Regions from separate parts of the Homo sapiens genome. Here region 2 is linked to region 1. The links are contacts of gene promoters, found by promoter capture Hi-C in blood cells and fetal thymus (Javierre and others, 2016). All regions are on one chromosome and are shown on one strand. Each heading gives the region's core, a stretch centred on a gene start or on the middle of the fragment in contact. The rest is flanking DNA. Distances are from core to core; before and after follow the strand shown.

Evidence for each region. Contacts are between HindIII fragments. The CHiCAGO score rates a contact against its expected background, and 5 or more counts as called.
Region 2: a fragment that was not itself captured here is called in contact with the fragment with the promoter of XPO4 in region 1 in 1 of 17 cell types (endothelial precursors); the score reaches 7.2 in endothelial precursors.

What each region holds. Positions count from the first base shown.
Region 1 is chr13:20,901,470-20,904,048 of GRCh38, reverse strand. It overlaps XPO4 (exportin 4), which reads left to right and starts at 1,303. Exons shown (of 23, transcript NM_022459.5): 1 at 1,303-1,379. The coding sequence starts at 1,311. RefSeq lists a silencer at 901-1,280 and an enhancer at 1,491-1,540. The HindIII fragment of the contact is 36,571 bases long and covers 1-2,579 here.
Region 2 is chr13:20,499,418-20,501,996 of GRCh38, reverse strand. All of the region lies in intron 2 of CRYL1 (crystallin lambda 1), which reads left to right. Among named protein-coding and RNA genes, the nearest start is that of CRYL1, 25 kb to the left of the region's middle. RefSeq lists an enhancer at 1-39. The HindIII fragment of the contact is 292 bases long and covers 1,143-1,434 here.

The DNA.
Region 1 (2,579 bases), core at 54-2,553:
CGGACCACAGGCGCAAGACACCACACCGGGCTTTTTTTTTTTTTTTTTTTGGTAGAGACAGGGTCTCACGATGTTGCCCAGGCTGGTCTCGAACTCCTGAGCTAAAATGAGGCCTGCCTTGGCCTCCCAAAGTGCTGGGATTACAGGCATGAGCCACAGCGCCTGGCCGACAAAGCTCATCTTACTGCATTTGAGAAGCCAGGTAGTCAAGGTCAGGCTTTCCTGTCCCTGCTTTCTCCCTCTCCTATGTGAGCCAGCCCTTAAAGAGTGAAAACGGCAAGAGCCAAAGACGGGTTTTCCTCCTAGGGTCTCCTAGCGACCCGCTGCCCAGATACATTTGGATGATTGTCCTGCAGAAGGCCAAAGCCCTCCATTATGAAAACGAAGCGTTCGGCCGGGGGCGGTGGCTCACGCCTGTAATCCCAGAACTTTGGGAGACCGAGGCGGGCGGATCACCTGAGGTCAGGAGTTCGAGACCAGCCTGGCCAACATGGTGAAACTTCGTCTCTACTAAAAGTACAAAAATTAGCCGGGCGTGGTGGCGGGCGCCTGTAATCCCAGATACTCAGGAGGCTGAGGCAGGGGAATCGCTTGAACCCGGGAGACGGAGGTTGCAGTGAGCCGAAATAGGGCCATTGCACTCCATCCTGGGCGATAGAGTGAGACCCTGTCTCCAAAAAAAAAAAAAAAGAAAGAAAGAAAACGAAGCGTTCTATCCTGGAATGTTCTCCCATGGCAAGAAGGAACAGAGAAGCAGGAGACAGAGATACTTTGAAAGGAGGTGCGCTCTGAGGAGGGGAAAGCGGGAAGAGCGATTCCAAGTTTAGGAAATCCTGCACGGCGCTGGAGCGTGGAAGGGCAAGGAGGAGCCAGGGGAGGCGGTGTGCAGGGCTGAGAACGGAGGGAGCGAACTGGCGTCGTGGATCTGCGGGTCCCCGGGCGGGCTGTACTAGGGTAGTGGGGAGAGGGCCGGGGGCACCGCGAGGCCGGGGCGCCGGACACCACGCATGCGCGGGGCTGGGAGCTTAGCGGGGCGCGCGGCTGCAGCAGTCTGGGCAGACCGCCTCGGCCTCGCCCGGTGCCGGCTGCGGCCGCCCCCGCCCCAGCGCGGCGGCCGGGCTCACACTAGTCCCCTCCCAGCCACCCGGAACCCGGCAGCCCGGCCAGACCCGCCGAGGCCGCGACGCCGGTGTCGACAGCGGCTGCGACGGCCCTGGGAGCGCGTGAGGCTCCGGGGTCGCGGCGGCGATTGGCCGGCCGCGGCGCCCGCTCCCAGAATGCAGCGCATGGCGCGTCATTGAAGAGAGACCATGATGGCGGCGGCGCTGGGGCCCCCAGAAGTGATCGCTCAGCTGGAGAACGCGGCTAAAGTTCTGATGGTGAGGACGCCGCGCCCCTCAGACCCCGGGATTCGCGGGCCCCCGGTCGGCCCTGCCACTCCAGGCCTTGCTGCTCGCTGGGCTGGCGACTGGCAAGGGCCTGCAGGGAGCCTGGAAGTGGAGGAGGAGGTGGCGGTGGCGTGGCGCAGGATTCTTCAGCCTACTTTCCTCCTGCCGTCGTCCCCTCCTTCCAGGAGCTGTCCCCTTCCCCTGGCTGCCCAGCACCCCAGTCGGGCGTGGGAATATAGTGGTGTAGCAAAGAGAATTTCTTCACCTTACACCCTGCCCCACAGACTGGGTCGCAGAGCAAGGCGCCGGGAAGGAGTTGGGGTTATCCCCGCAGGGCTTCGGTAGGGGAAATTTGTAGGGCTGTGTGAGCGCTCTTGGGGAGTTGGTGTCGGGAGGGATTGGATGGCACAGCCTGGGTGCTGTTAGCAACCCTTGTTTCCTGTGCATTCGCATCCTCTAGCGCTTCCCTGACATGCAGCCACCTCTGGAGTAATTGCAGCCGGCAGCACGTGGAAGGGCCGGGCCGGCTGGAGGGAGGGAGGGGAATCGTTGAGACCAAGGTCATTGGGGCAAAACTTGGTCTAGTGCTAAGCTCCTTAAAGCTCCCGCGATTTGGAGAACTGAGTCTATGCTACTCTTTGACTTCATGCTTACACTACAATAAGCAGTTTGATGAGATTGTTTACTAAGGGAATTTGAGAAGGCCGAGTCAAAGGATAAAAGTATTACATGCAAGGAGGAGAAGTAAGGATAAACTACGTTCAGTTAGTAAACAGTGTTTCTATTTGCTGGCTCAGCTTTGTTTTTGCAAATTATGACTTCGGTGTTTGTAGATGTTTTGGGAAGTTAGAGGTTCATTTGATACCTGGATTGATTCAGACTTTCTAAGAATTGGATACAGCCAGCTTTGTTACCTTTTTGGACTTTTTTCCTTTTGGTTTGGTGTTAGGGTGTTTGAGCATCACATTTGAGAATATTCGAACTAATTCTAGCGTAGTTTGTAGTTCTAATATTTTACACCAGATATTTTTGTTTCTTTAGAAATCGAGAAGTCTAATAAAAGCAGGATTTACTTGCTTCATTATGAATATTAACTTAATGTACGTTTTGTCACAAAACAGACTAGTGAAGGTTTTCACACTTTTGCAAATTAAGCAGAAGTAACTAGCTAGTATTCCCCTTAATAAAAGA
Region 2 (2,579 bases), core at 39-2,538, 400 kb after region 1:
TGATTGTTAGTGTCCACACACTATCACCGTGCCACATGGACTGTGTGGTTGGGCTGTCTTCTGACTCTTTTGCATTGCAGTAACTTAATTAAAGATTTTTGTGCAGCCTCAACTTAACCTGCCCGTCTGGAGTTAGAGTGATCCCTGGGGCTGGAGTCGGGTGGAGTCTGGCTCAGCCCTCTGCCTCTGCATAATCAGGGCCTAGAAACAACAGCAATGTCAACGTCAAAGCAGACAGCACAACACAGCCATCCCATAAGGAAGCAATCCCTGGCCTTTCTATTTCCTCACTGCTCTCTGTTCTTTGCCTCCAGTGTGCTAGAATTTCTGTTGGCTGGAGATGAGGTAGACTCACCTCCTTAAGCTAATCTTACCTGATCTTCCATGTCTGCCCCATTCTTCCCCATCTTTAGCTCTTCAGATCCTCAGACCTTCAGGAATAGGTGGGAGCCAAAGACCCTGCCAGAAATCCCCTTGGGAGTTCACTATAGGCTGGCACTGAGATTTCTGAAAGAAATGTTAGCCATGCCCTTTATTCCTCAGGAAGCTGCATTATACATGGAGTCATACTGTAGATAGAAAGCAGGCAGCACAGTGTGAAAATAAGTGAGCAGTGCAGAGGGGTCCAGTGTGGCTCAGCGGCCCAGACTGTGAGCTTTGCAGTCAGATCTGGCTCAGCCTTCATAGCTGGGTAACTCACTCAATCTGTTTCCTCATCTGGGATATGGAGACATAATAATACCTTCCTCATAATGTGGTTTTGTTACCAAAACACCAAGAGTTTGGTCTAGGTGCTGCTGCTCACAGCAGTGAAAGCCAATGACTGAAATGATGAGTACAGCCAAGGAAGAAGGCTTTAATCGGCTGCTGCAGCCAAGGAGATGGGAGTTCAGTCTCAAATCCATCTCCCTGACCACCTAAAATCAGGGGTTTATATAGCAGGAAAGAAATGTAGCACTGTGTAGGAAAACAGGAACTAGGGGGGGGCAAGGAAGCAATCATGGTGAATGAGGGGCCTGGAGTCTCATTGTATGGATGTGATGATCTGGTAAGTTTCAGTTCTTCAACACTTTTTTTTTTGAGATGCCTGAAGTAATTTCCTGAGGAAAGAACTCAGATAAAACCAATAGAAATTTCAAGCTTTAAGGCAAAAAGTATCAATTTCTATGTTTACTGAAAAAATTGAGTGGGTTTCAGTCTCCCCTTGTTTATAGATTCCTCAACCATGGGGCATCTGGTCATCCATCTTTCTGTCTCCTTCCTGCTGAGGAGAGGCATTGTGGGCAGCTCCATACCATGGAAGACCTCATGACCATCCAGGAATCAAAGGCTAATCTAATACTAAAGTTTTTCTTCTGAAACACAATCTTTTTCTCCAGTCTACCACTTTCACAAAGACATCACAGCAGGACCAATCTACCTGCAAAATAAGCTTCAGTCCCATATACTTGGCCTGATTACCCACACAAAATGGAACAAGAATCACTGTTCTCATAGGCTCTCCTAAATTGGCTTTGCTAGAACCTCTCTCAAGGCCATTTTAGTCAAAGCCCTGGGAAAACAACCAGTTCCTTCAACTGTGTCCCATTACCAAAGAAAACATGTTGTTATTAACTGTATGCAAACAAACACATTGCCATGAATTAAGAATACTCACAAATAGTTTATAAATTCTGGATAAATTAGAGAAATATGCCTCAAATTCTGTTTACAAAAGTATACTCTACTCACTATACTTAAAAGATACTTAAAGGATGACTCAAAAGAAAAAAATTCTTCAGACTCTGAAAAACAAAAAGAATGAGCAATATTTCAAACAAAAAAGCCATAAAAGTTATTTCAGTCCTCCATTAGTTCCGTCCATGCAGACAACTCCTGCTCTGCTTCATGTTGAGTTAGCCATCTTTGTGAACACATCAGTGTTTCCATTAGTGCACTGGAAGTTTTCTCTCACATCCAATGGCACAATCTCCGAAGTTATCAGAAACTTGTATTCAAGAGTCCTTTTCATGAACTCCCCCCAAAGAAACAAGCCCTGGACAGTAGCTGATTATAAGTCACTTTTTGTGAAGAATCAACACAAAACAACAATTGTGGATGACAAAAGTCTTAGGACAACCACAGTTAAAGACACTGTTGACAAGGAAATTTGGTTATTTCTGTGGGATACAACAATTTAACATGAAAATCATAATTATTACTGACAACATATTAAGACATATCAGAATTATAAGAATCTAATATAATCCTGGAACACATTGACAACACATCTATATAAACATAACCAAAGGGAGCTAAACAACATCTCAGATTTGACAATGCTTCCTACATTTTTTTTTGTGTGTGTGTCAGAGTCTCGCTCTGTCACCCAGGCTGGAGTGCAGTGGCATGATCTCGGCTCACTGCAAGCTCTGCTCTCGGGTTCACGCCACTCTCCTGCCTCAGCCTCCCTAGTAGCTGGGACTACAGGCGCCTGCCACCACGCCCGGCTAATTTTTTTTTTCATTTTTTTAGTAGAGATGGGGTTTCACCGTGTTAGCCAGGATAGTCTCGATCTCCTGACCTCACGATCCACCCGC